4 separate regions of the Homo sapiens genome follow, and all the other regions are linked to region 1. Evidence: promoter capture Hi-C in human tissues and cell types (Jung and others, 2019). All regions are on one chromosome and are shown on one strand. The core of a region is centred on a gene start or on the middle of the fragment in contact, and the rest is flanking DNA. Distances in the headings are between cores, read along the strand shown.

Region 1 (3,258 bases), core at 517-3,016:
AAACAAGGATATTTGATGTATGGCTCTATCACTCCCTATTCATTTTTCAACTGGGGCCTCAATAAACATGACCTTTGGGGACCATGTGACTGCATTATAACTAAAACCACGTTGTACGGACCTGCCAATACATATGACAATTAAAACTCCTTGGACAGAATCCTAGATAAATCCACACACAACAAATTTCGGACTATGAAGATTCACATTATTAGACTCCAGTGCTCCCTGACAATCTGTTCTACTTCTCTCATTTCTAAGAATTTCTACCATACAAAAACGTCTTATTTCTCTACATCAGCACCCTTAGGTCAGTGACATCTCCCTCATCTCAGATATATTTAAATGCAATTGGATGAAGCAGTATACAGTACATCATCCTCGAAGCCTAACAGGTCTTCCACTTAGTATGCATCTCCCCACAGATTTCACAAGAATGAGCAAGATTAACATACACGTTCACCAGGTTATATCAAGCAAAATGATGCTGCAATTGAGTCACTTTAACTGGCGCATTTAGTCACATAAATGTGCAACTAATTTCCTTCATAAAAACCGACACAAAAATTTAAGGTTTAGTTGTTGTGATGACAAGGAATATCTCACGTCTGAAGACTTGTCGATATTTCCTTAAGACTTTACAAAATCAAAGAATCGAAAATGTCATGGTTCCATACATACTTGTCAAAACACAGTATTCATAAACAGCCAATTAATAATTAAAACGCACAAAATTGAGGGGCAAAAGATTTCACGAGATCCCCCACAGAGGCCAAGGTAGGAAGATCTCTGAAGCCAGGAGTTTTGGAAGCCGCCTGGGCACTATAGCGAGGCCTCATATCTACGAAAAAGAGAGGAGAGGAGAGAAGAGGAGAGAGAAAGAGAATCCCCCATAACTGCGGCCCTCCCCCAGCCTTGTGTTAAAACTATTTCCTCGGAACAGCTCTGAAAGAGTTTGCCAACCAGAGTAAAATCACTTCGCAGAGATAAACGAGCGGAAACGTATTCAGAAGAGAGAGATCGCGGAAGCAAGGGCAGCGGGGCGCGGGGCCCCCACGTCCCGGGACCCAGGCAGCCGCGGCAACCAGGGGCGAGCATGTGCTGACCGCGGCAGGACGCGCGGGCCTCCCAGAGCCACTTCCCGGGGCGCAGGGCCCCGCCCGGCCTGACCCTCCCGGTTCATTCATTCTGCACCCGCGGTTGCCGCACCTCCGCGGCCCCGTCGGGGCGGAGAAGAGGGGCTTGGCTGCCGAGGGACCTTGTCGGGCCACAATCCCCACCAGGCGCCCGAGCCCCGCCGCGATTCCCGCGCGCCCGCGGCCTCCGGCGGGGGGGTGGTCTCAGAAGCTATGGAGGCCCGCGCCCAAGCCCAGAGACCCCCAGCCTTGCCGCCCCACCCTCCGCCGGGGCGTGGGACAGCACTCCCTGGCCCGCCGGGCAGCCGCCTGGAAGCCCCGGGTCCCCGCTGTCCGGCTGCCCCGCCGCGGCCGGAAGTCTCCCCGGCGCCCCCTCCTCAGCACCCGACTTCCCTCGCCGCCGCGGCCAACCCCTCTCCGCGCCGCCTCGGGCCTCCCAGAGCGGGCCGCGGGCCGAAGGAGGCGAGAGGCCGCGCTGCCTGCCCAGCTGAGCCGACGAGAGCAGAGCGAAGAGCTGGAGGCCGGCCTGGGCGGTTACCTTGATGATCCTGCGGGGCAGCCCGGCCATCTTGTCAGAACCCGAGTTCGGCCTCTGGTCTCGTCTCCGGCTCCTCTCGCCTCACGCACGAGTGGAAGTCCCGGGCTCCACTTCCGGGGGACGTTGCCGCGCCCGTCGCCGCAGCCGCCGCCGAGGCCCCTCGGGAAATGTAGTCCCTGCTCGGGCGCGGGCTCGGGCACGGGCGGGCTTCCCTCCGACCTGGCCCCCTCCCCCGTGCGCCCCGCCCCAACCGCTGCCGGGGATGGCGGAAGTGACGCTCTGTTGCGGGGCAGGGACTTGGGACAGGCCGCGAGGGGAGGCGCGGGGCTCTGGCGCTCGTGGCCGAGCCTGCCCGCGACGGTGGTACGGCACGACCCGCGCGCGACTGCGCGCGCGTCTCTCTTAACCGTGGCCACGCCCGCGCCGGTGGACGACGTAACAGAGGCCTGGCCTACGACGTATCCCATTCATTCATTCACGCGTTCGTTCTTTCAGCTCACGCGTTCGTTCTTTCAGCTCAGCCTGCATTGCGCGCGTTCCCTGCTGGCTCTGCAGTGAACGACTGAGGTGGGGCTCATCGTCTTGCTCCTTCCTCAAAGGGAGGGCAAGACCGAAACTCGGTGGCAAAGCTCTGACTGGGGGTCTCTCCAGTTACTCACACGCTGTTGGGGGAGTTTTGATGTTTAAATTGTATAAATCGGACCTCTGACACGCCCCTAGGCCCAGGGTAGGCTGAAGGAAAAGGGTTTGGAGCGAGTTGGAGGCGGGAAGAATGGTTCTGAACGCCTAGACCTAAAGGTTGAGACTCAGAATTGTTAACAGGACGAATGACCAAGGAGAGGTTTAAAGAACCCAGAGTAATCCGTAAAGCAGAGATTACCTATAGAGTGCGAGGTCCTATGAGAGAATTAGAGTGGGGGTGCCCGAAAATTGAATTGTTGGGGAAGCGTTTTATCCTGATGACGGATGGTTTGCTGTGTGATGGACTGTTTGCAAGCACTTTACTTCATCTTCACAGCAATCGTGAGGAGGTGTTGTTTCCATTTTACAAATGAGGCTTAGATAGTTAACCTTTTCCAAGGAGCTGTTTTGTCCCCAGGCAGATCCGCCAAGACCTGGCCCTTAACTACTTAACCACAGTGTTTCCTAGCACACTAACAGACAGTAGATGGTGAATAAATGAAGACAAGACTGACCGTGCCTTCCAGGAACTTAGATTCCAATGGAGAAGAGAGACCAGTAAACAATTAGTTACAATCCAATGTGTTAAGGGCTGTCTGTAATACAGGTTCCTCCAAGGTGCTATTTTAGCAGAGAGGCATTAACTGCTTGAGAACTCAGGGAAGCCTTCTTAAATAAGTGAAGTCCTCAATGATGAGTAAGAACCTACCTGACCTTGTAGGGAAGAGTATGCCAAGCATAGGAAATGGCCTGTGAAATGGCATTGAGCTATGAGAGAGAAAAAATAGTGCACTAAAGAAACTGGAACTCTGAATACAAGAAACCTACTAAGAACAATAAGAAATATTTTGTGCTGGCACGATGCTAAATGGTTAATAAATTTAATACATCATTCAATTATGA
Region 2 (3,258 bases), core at 443-2,942, 630 kb before region 1:
GCCAATTAAGTTCCTGATTTTGCTTCTTTAATCTCTTGGACTAGATGACATTGTTGTTCTTCAGAATATAGTTTGCATCTCACATGTATACATGTAATTATGTGTGTATTTTTACAAACTTACAAAATCAAACTGTTGAATATAAGTTTGAAAAGCTTTACACAATGCATTTCCTTGCAGTGGTAGTGATTTTGCACACTAAATATTTTATAAACTGATTGGTATCTGTAGCCCTTACCATTGACCTACACTGAAAATATTCATTAAATAAAAGATATTTGATGTAGCTAAATTAATTATACATGTCTATATAAAAAATATGATACTCCCTAAAATGATAATTACAAAGTGTTAGAGCTGATAATCACAATAAAAACTCAGTTCTAAATAACCACTATTTTTAATAGGTACCCAAAAAGAATTCTCATTAGACACTTTTCAGTAAAATAATACTTCTGTTATTTTTAACCATGCCTAAAGTACCTTGCCTTTGCTATTATCGTTTGTCATAAAGAAAAAGGAACCTATAAACAGAATTGTAAATGTAATTATTCCCCCATACTATATTGGTATGTATGTACATATATTCATTTCATGACTCTAAACTTATACACACACGCTTCACCGGGTTGAGGAAGTATAAGTTACATATATAGTAACTTGAGAAGTTTTTGTTTAACTGATAGTAGCTCAATTTTTAAAAATTTTTTTTTTTTTTATTTTTAGCCAAAGGCAGTTAAGCAGCAAGCGGTTCTAATTTGAAGGACACAAAAACTCAGGTCAAATCCTTCTGAGATGTCTAATCATCTTATCTCTTCAGTAAATCAACACATTCATATGGAGTTGTGTTAAAGTAAGATACAGTTTATCATAGTCTCAATGTGTTTTTAAATTAGAAGCAAAATCCAAAGGGTATAAAGTTCTAAAAAGGAAAAGTCTACCATATCTGAAATGTGATATTGGAGTAAGTTGGTAAGAGATGGAAGAATGAAGGAACAGAAGAGACTTCACAACAAAAAATTGAGAAGTTCCTTGTAATGGTAGAGTAGATACCTGGTTATCTGTCTTTGGAAAAAGTAACACATTACAATGGAATCAGTATGTAAGTTGACTGTCATTTATAAAAGATGCTCATTAAGGGAGACATTAAAAATAAAGATAGAATTCAAACTTAAGACATGAAAAATTACAAGCAATTTTTTAAAAATTTTATACCACAACTTCACCTTTCTTTGTTAACTAAAAATCTTTGATTCCATGTAGGTCATGAGATTCCATTGCTACTGAAGTAGAAAATATGACTAAATTCAACTTCTTTTATACAAACCTTAATTTGACCTTCTAGCTCTTCGGTTTTCTGTTCTAAAGAGAGGTATTTCTCTTTATATTCTTTAAGATGACTTTCCAGCTGACTGCAATGTTCTTGCTTGTCTTGTAACTTTGCAGTGACCTGATCCAACTGAGTAGTAATCTTATTTAACTCCTTTAGAAAAGTACAATTGAAGAAAACTTTGGTAAGGTTTACTATATTGTAGTGGCCAAATGTTCAACGTAAAATTGAAAACTCTAATTTTATTTAAAAAAATATTTGGAGTAAGAGCTCAGATAAATCTAATGATATATCAGAGGCTATACTTACCTACCAATATAAACGACATGAACTAAATTCTTGCATAGTCTGAGATCCTAAGTTTATATGTATAACAGTTTAATAACTTTTCAATGTTTATCTAGGAAGAATTATTTTAGGAGCCAAATATTAGCCAGGCTAATAATAAAATAACACTTTTATATTATAATTAAATATTTTCAATGTTCAAGACACCAATTTTTAAAACTATTTTTTAAAAATATTACAGTGTTTACATTTATGATGCTTTTCAATTCATTTGGAATATCCAGTTGCACAAAAAAAAAAAAATAAAATAAAAATTACTAGTAAATCTACTATGTACCAAAAGTAGGACACATACCAAATTTAACAGCAAACATTCCATTCAAATGGGCTTTTCATAAAGGGTAAATATAGAAAACTGTTTTGTTCTGTTTTTTAACTTGATATACTTCTGTATTGTTTTTTAAAAAATGGACCAATAAAGCCAGGTGCGGTGGCTCACACCTATAATCCCAGCACTTTGGGAGGCCAAGGTGGGTGAATCACCTGAAGTCGGAGTTTGAGACCAGCCTGACCAACATGGTGAAACCCTGTCTCTACTAAAAATACAAAATTAGCCAGGCACGGTGGCACATGCTTGTAATCCCAGCTACTTGGGAGGCTGAGGCAGGAGAATTGCTTGAACCCGGCAGGTGGAGGTTTCAGTGAGCCAAGATTACACCATTGCGCTCCAACCTGGGTAACAAGAGCAAAAAACTCCATCTAAAAAAAAAAAAGACCAATAACTAATATTACTCCCTGAATAACAAGTAAATTTTAAAAATTTCTACCAGTAAAAGCTAAGAAAAATCTACCAGCAACATTCACCGTGACCCTAAAGTAGGATGCTTCTATTCTACCAGAGTATCGCTTCTGTATTCCCTCCAGCTCCTCACTTCCTCCTATTACCAAGAAAGGAGTAACTCTTATAACTGAGGTAGAATATACAGTGTTCTTTTCCTGTTTCCAAGTGGCAAGTACATTTGGGTCATGGTCCAGTCTACCTACTAAAAACAAATGTGGTGGTCTGCCCCATCCAATCACCAACACTTGAAGGGATGGGGCAACAATTCAAAAGTTAGGAGGAAACATTACTGCTCTACACCAAGGTCTAGGCTAGGGGAGAAGGACAATATCAGGAAACCAACCACACCTGCACACTAGTAGAAATTTATCAAAAACAAAGCTGTTATTTTTATCTCCATCTATGTGACCCCCACTTTTACTACTCAACTGGAACTCATGGAGAAATTAAGGGGGATAAGCAAGTCTATCACAAGATTATACAAAACTGGGTATCATCTTTACATGTTTGCAATTTATTTATCTACCAAAGCACTAGGTGATAGTATGAAATTGCATCTGTTTCCCTACCTGCTGTTTATCTTGTAATGCATTTTGAGCTGTGTCCAAATGATTCTGAAGATCAGCTCTTTGAGCAGTTTTTGCTGCTTCTGCTGATAGTAATAGTTCGGTTTTGGCTTTAATCTGTAACAGCATTTACAAATTATTTAATTTATATTTAGTTCTTGATTTCCTCTTGCTTGAACGCACACTCCTTTTGTGACTAAACAAACTATTTAAAAATTAAGTCCTTGGCAAAA
Region 3 (3,258 bases), core at 424-2,923, 610 kb before region 1:
AAAATCTTTAAATGGAAACTCAAAGTTTATATATACCAACTACATGTCATTAACGATCTTTACCAACAATTCATAGTTTACTGTTTCATTAGGAAGTAGTCCTTCCTGAGTAGGAAGACTCTAGCAGCCTGATGGGTTCACCCCCAGAATTTTTCCTGCCTAAACCTGAAAGAGTAGTTTTCCTTGTGCATTTCTGTTGAGAACTTTAGGGAATACAATTACAACAAAATGACTTAATGTAGTTAATAAGCAAGATGTTGCTATTGGAGAGCAATAAATTTGCACTTTAAAAAGTCCAATTAAAGCTTTGACAATTAACAGATTGATGAATCATAATCATGTTAAAGATGCCTCAAGCCTATCAATAAATTGAAAATGCTAGCTTACCTGCTCTTCTAACCGAGAAAGTTTGAGTTGTAAATCAGCCACTTGTTGTTCTTTATCCATCAACTTTTCACTTGAAAGCTGTCTCTGTTCCTTCAGCCTACCATGAGCTTCCCCTAGTTGGCGCTCTGTCTCCAGAAGTTTGCTATGTAACTTTAAAAAAAGAAAAAAAAATGTATGTACATATGTACAAACACACACACAGCACCACCTACTTTCCAAACAATGTTTTACTTTTCACCAAAATAAGTACAATATCTTAATTTTCGTGATACTTTGGGGAAACCTAAGATTTTATACAGTAATTTTAACTGCAACTGAATTTTAATCATATATTATAATGAATCACATAAAATTATCGTTAAACATCACAATTTTTGTTTTTGTGTTATGTTACTGCTCTCTTAAAACAAATGCAGGTTCTTGTTTGGATATAAGTGTTGGAACTTTCAGGAACTTAAAAGAATAAAATACAACTTAAAAATTAAGACACTTAGTACACACTCAGATCTATTTTACAGTATTGTTTAAAGTTCCACAGTGATTCTTGTTGGTTTTCCATAGCCAAGAACTACTACAGTTAACTTTTTACATTTGGGTATTGGATAGTGCCCAGTGCATTCCCAAGTCCTCATACTGGCACATAATTTCTAAATAAAATACAGGAAATGATCATATATATAGATATATATATGTGTACATATATATATCATATATATATATATATGGTGACCCTCATTCATTAACTTTACAAATGCCACCCAATTAAAACTAAGGGAGTTAAGAACCATCACGAGTAGTCCACCCTGTTATACATACCCTATCCTAACAGCAAATCAGTGTTCCTTCCTACCTCTTACAACACTTTCCTGCCACTAGTTCGCTCTCACTAATCCCTCTGGCTGTGAGACACATCTGCTTTCGAACTGCCACCTGTCAAAACCTATCCGATATTCCCAATTCCAAGTACCACCTCCTCTCTCTAACACAAAGATTTCCTGATCACATAAATGGATTAAAAATTACAACAGCTGAAGTACTAAGAGGGGGAACAAAAGAAAGAAACTCTTCCAATTTCCCATAATATACAGAATCCTTTTATTATAATTCTCATAATCTTTGGTATGATAGATAGTACTTGCCTTATCCTCTCCATGATATTTACACAATTATTAAAGGTAGGTACTGTCTCTTACTCATTTATGTATCCCCTAGTAAATGAGGGATGTGTCTTTTAGAAAGCATAAACGCAGCCAGGCACAGTGGCTCAGGCCTGTAATCCCAGCTACTCAGGAGGCTGTGGCAGGAGAATCGCTTGAACCCGGGCGGCAGAGGTTGCAGTGAGCTGAAATCTCGCCACTGCACTCCAGCCTAGGCAACAAAGTGAGATTCCATCTCAAAAGAAAAGAAAAAGAAAAAAAGAAAGCATAAATGCTAAATTTGTTTATCTGAACTAAAACTCAAATATGTAAGTTAGTTTAAGTTATTCATTGATATCCCCATGGCTCAGTTTCCTTCCACTATGAATGCTTATATTTATTCATTCATTCACTCACTAAAACATAGGCAGATTAACAAGCAAAATGCTGGCTGGGCGCGGTGGCTCATGCCTGTAATCCTAGCACTTTGGGAGGCTGAGGAGGGTGGACTGTCTGAGCTCAAGAGTTCGAGACCAGCCTGGGCAACATGGTGAAACCCCATATCTACTGAAATACAGAAAGTCAGTCAGGTGTGGTAGCATGTGCCTGAAGTCCCGGCTACTCAGGAGGCTGAGGCACGAGAATTGCTTGGACCCGGAAAATGGAGGTTGCAATGAGCCGAGATCATGCCACTGCACTCCAGCCTGGGTGACAAAGTGAAACTCTGTCTTAAAAAAAAAAAAAAAAAACAAAAAACAAGCCAAATGCCAGGCAGTAAAAATAAAAAATGAGTAAGAGATGGTCTTTGCACCCGAAGAGTTCAGAGTCTATTAAAGAAAGACATAAATTATGATAATAAACTATATTATGGTATAAGTAAAATATTAAAGATATGTACATGCTTAAGCTATCTTGGGTGTGGGGAAGCAGTGGCATGTTTAGAAAGGATTTTTAGGGAGAGTGTGGGGGGGGCGGGTGAGGGTTGAAAAATTACCTGTTGGGTACAATGGTTACTATACGGGCAATGGGTACACTAACAGTCCAGACTTCAACATTACACAACACATACATGCAAGAAATCTGCACTTTTACCCCCTAAATATATTTTTTAAATTTTTTCAAATATTTAACTTTTATTTTAGGTTCAGGGATACATGTGCAGGTTTGTTATATAGGTAAATTACGTGTCACAGGGGTTTGGTGTACAGATTATTTCATTACCTAGGTAATAAACATAGTACCCAATAGGCAGTTTTTCGATCCTCACCCTCCTCCCACCTTCCACCCTCAAGCAGGTCTGGCTGTCTGTTGTTCCCTTCTTTGTGTCCATATGTATTTAATATTTAGCTCCCACTTTTAAGTGAGAACATGTGGTATTTGATTTTCTGTTCCTATATTAGCTCGCTTAGGACAATGGCCTCCAGCTCCATCCACATTGCTATAAGGAGCATGATCTTGTTCCCTAAAAAAAAAAATTATAAAAAGTGACAAGTGAAGTAAATAGTATCTATCAAGGTGAAGAGGAATAAAAAGAATATTTCAGGTCAAGAAGACAGACTGAATGATACAACAAAAGCAAGACACAGCACACATGTAGGAAAAAACTAAAGACACTTCCATATTCTTGCAGTGAAGAATAAGGAAAAGAAGGGTAAATTGCTGAGGAGGTGAGCCAACAAGATCACTATGGATAGTGCATGTCATAACAAGGGACCTCAACTTAATCCATTAGGCC
Region 4 (3,258 bases), core at 480-2,979, 560 kb before region 1:
TCACTTATTACATTATGTATTACATATATTATATATGTTATTACAGCTGACCCTCGAACACCGCAAGTTTGAACAGTGTGGGTCCACTTACACGTGGATTTTCTTCCACCTCTGCCTCCTCTGAGACAGCAAGACCAACTCCATTTCTTCCTCCTCCTCCTCCTCATCCTACTCAACATAAAGACAAAAATGAAGACCTTTATGACCTTCCACTTAAAGAATAGTAAATATATTTTCTCTTTGTTATGACGATTTTCCTTTTCTTTTTTGGCTCTATGGAATCTTTCTAGTCATATGATTTTTCTTTTTTTTTTGTTGAGACAAAGTCTCACTCTGTTGCCCAGGCTGGAGTGCAGTGGAGTGATCTCAGCTCACTGCAACCTCTGCCTCCTGAGTTCAAGTGATTCTCCTGCCTCAGCCTCCTGAGTAGCTGGGATTACAGTCACGTGCCACCATGACTGGCTAATTTTTGTATTTTTAGTAGAAACATGGTTTCATCACGTTGGCCAGGCTGGTCTCAAACTCCTGACCTCAGGTGATCTGCCCGCCTCGGCCTCCCAAAGTGCAGGATTACAGGCATGAGTCACCGTACCTGGCATCTTTTTTTTTTTTTCCACTTTTATTTTAGATTCAGAGGGTGTATGTGCAGGTTTGTTACCTGGGTATATTGCATGATGCTGAGCTTTGGGGTACAAATGATCTTGTCACCCAGGTACTAAGTATAGTACCCAACAGTCGGATTTTCAACCACTGCCCACCCCCTTCCCTTCTCATTCTAGTAGTCTCCAGTTTCTGTTGTTGCCATCTTTATGTCCATGAGTACCCAATGTTTAGCTCCCATTTATAAGTGAGAACAAGCAGTATCTGGTTTTCTGTTCCTGTGTTAATTTGCTTGGGATAATAGCCTCTAGCTGCATCAGTATTCCTACAAAGAATATGATTTTGTTATTTTTATGCCTGTGTGGTATTCTGTGGTATATATGTACCATTTCTTTTTTTTATCCAATCCACCATTGATGGGCACATAGTCCGATTCCATTTATTTGCTATTGTGAATAGTGCTGTAATGAACATACAAATGCGCATGTCTTTTTGGTAGAACAGTTTGTTTTGTTCAGATATATACTCAGTAATGGATTACTGGGTTGAATGGTAGTCCTGTTTTAAGTTCTTTAAATCTCGAAACTGCTTTCCACAGTGGCTGAACTAATTTACATTCCCACCAGCAATGTATAAGCATTCTCTTTTCTCTGCAGCCTCACCAACATTTGTTTTTTAATATTTTAATAACAGCCATTCTAACTGGTGTGAGATGGTATCTCATTGCGGTTTTGATTTGCATTTCTCTGATGATTAGAGATATGGACCATTTTGTCACGTTTCTTGGCCATTTGTATGTCTTCTGAGAAGTGTCTGTTCGTGTCTTTTGACCATTTTTTAATGGGGCTTTTTGCTTGTTCAATTGTTTAAGTTTCTTACAGATTCTGGATATTAGACCTTTGATATCTGCAAACTTGGCTGCACAGTTTGCAAATATTTTCTCCCATTCTGCAGGCTATCTCTTAACTCTGTCGATAGTTTCTTTCACTGTGCAGAGGCTCTTTAATTAGTCCGGCTTGTCAATTTTTGATTTTGTTGCAATTGCTTTTGAGGACTTAGTTATAAATTCTCTCCCGACACTAATGTCCAGAATGATGTTTCCTAGGTTTTCTTCTAAAATTCTTATAGTTTAAGGTCTTACATTTAAATCTTTAATCTATTTTGAGCTAAATTTTTTATATGGTGAAAGGTAGGGAATCCAGTTTCATTTTTCTGCATAAGCCACATGATTTTCTTAATAATATTTTCTTTTCTCTATCTTACTTTATCGTAAGAATACAGTGAGACACGTTCATCAGCTTGTTCTTTTCTGCCCGCGGACGCCACTGAAGAAGCATCGTTAAAGTCTCTCTTCTCCCTTCCGTCATGTCTAAGTCAGAGTCTCCTAAAGAGCCCGAACAGCTGAGGAAGCTCTTCATTGGAGGGTTGAGCTTTAAAACAACCGATGAGAGCCTGAGGAGCCATTTTGAGCAATGGGGAACGCTCACGGACTGTGTGGTAATGAGAGATCCAAACACAGAGCACTCCAGGGGCTTTGGGTTCATCACACATGCCACTGTGGAGGAGGTGGATGCAGCCATGAATGCAAGGCCACATAAGGTGGATGGAAGAGTTGTGGAACCAAAGAGAGCTGTCTCAAGAGAAGATTCTCAAAGACCAGGTGCCCACTTAACTATGAAAAAGATATTTGTTGGTGGCATTAAACAATGAAGAACAACACCTAAGAGATTATTTTGAACAGTATGGAAAAATTGAAGTGACTCAAATCATGACTCACTGAGGCAGTGCCAAGAAAAGGGGCTTTGCCTTTGTAACCTTTGACGACCATGACTCCGTGGATAAGACTGTCATTCAGAAATACCATACTGTGAATGGCCACAACTGTGAAGTTAGGAAAGCCCTGTCAAAGCAAGAGATGGCTAGGGCTTTATCCAGCCAAAGAGGCTGAAGTGGTTCTAGAAACTTTGGCGGTGGTCGTGGAGGTGGTTTTGGCAGGAATGACAACACTGGTAGTGGAGGAAACTTCAGTGGTGGTGGTGGATATGGTGGCAGTGGGGATGGCTATAATGGATTTGGTAATGATGGAAGCAATTTTGGAGGTGGTGGAAGCTACAATGATTTTGGCAATTACAACAATCAGTCTTCAAATTTTGGACCCATGAAGGGAGGAAACTTTGGAGGCAGAAGCCCTGGCCCCTATGGTGGTGGAGGCCAATACTTTGCCAAACCATGAAACCAAGGTGGCTATGGTGGTTCCAGTAGCAGCAGTAGCTATGGCAATGGCAGAAGATTTTAATTAGGAAACAAAGCTTAGCAGGAGAGGAGAGCCAGAGAAGTGACAGGGAAGCTACAGGTTACAACAGATTGTGAACTCAGCCAAGCACAGTGGTGGCAGGGCCTAGCTGCTACAAAGAAGACCTGTTTTAGACAAATACTCATGGGTATGGGCAAAAAACTCGAGGACTGTATTTGTGACTAATTGTATAACAAGTCATTTTAGTTTCTGTTCTGTGGAAAGTGTAAAGCATTCCAACAAAGGGTTTCAATGTAGATTTTTTTTTTTTTTTGCAAACATGCTGTTGATTGCTAAATGTAAGTCTGATCATGATGCAGAATAAATGTCTTTTTTTAATGTGCAAAGAAAAAAGAATACTGTAT

What was found. Contacts are between HindIII fragments. The study calls those that stand out against the background at their distance.
Region 2: a fragment that was not itself captured here is called in contact with the fragment with the promoter of UBE2N in region 1 in 1 of the 25 tissues and cell types used here (pancreas).
Region 3: a contact is called between a fragment that was not itself captured here and the fragment with the promoter of UBE2N in region 1, in 1 of the 25 tissues and cell types used here (psoas muscle).
Region 4: a contact is called between a fragment that was not itself captured here and the fragment with the promoter of UBE2N in region 1, in 1 of the 25 tissues and cell types used here (aorta).

Annotation. Positions count from the first base shown.
Region 1 is chr12:93,440,181-93,443,438 of GRCh38, forward strand. It overlaps UBE2N (ubiquitin conjugating enzyme E2 N), which reads right to left and starts at 1,767. Exons shown (of 4, transcript NM_003348.4): 1 at 1,675-1,767. The coding sequence starts at 1,704. RefSeq lists silencers at 983-1,102, 1,133-1,272, 1,423-1,632, 1,713-2,172 and an enhancer at 1,665-2,302. The HindIII fragment of the contact is 20,755 bases long and covers 1-3,258 here.
Region 2 is chr12:92,809,952-92,813,209 of GRCh38, forward strand. EEA1 (early endosome antigen 1) reads right to left here. Exons shown (of 29, transcript NM_003566.4): 16 at 3,029-3,142; 17 at 1,328-1,483. Among named protein-coding and RNA genes, the nearest start is that of PLEKHG7, 110 kb to the left of the region's middle. The HindIII fragment of the contact is 3,829 bases long and covers 1-3,258 here.
Region 3 is chr12:92,827,525-92,830,782 of GRCh38, forward strand. It overlaps EEA1 (early endosome antigen 1), which reads right to left. Exons shown (of 29, transcript NM_003566.4): 12 at 388-537. Among named protein-coding and RNA genes, the nearest start is that of EEA1, 100 kb to the right of the region's middle. The HindIII fragment of the contact is 8,478 bases long and covers 1-3,258 here.
Region 4 is chr12:92,881,809-92,885,066 of GRCh38, forward strand. All of the region lies in intron 2 of EEA1 (early endosome antigen 1), which reads right to left. It also overlaps the pseudogene HNRNPA1P50. Among named protein-coding and RNA genes, the nearest start is that of EEA1, 46 kb to the right of the region's middle. The HindIII fragment of the contact is 3,784 bases long and covers 1-3,258 here.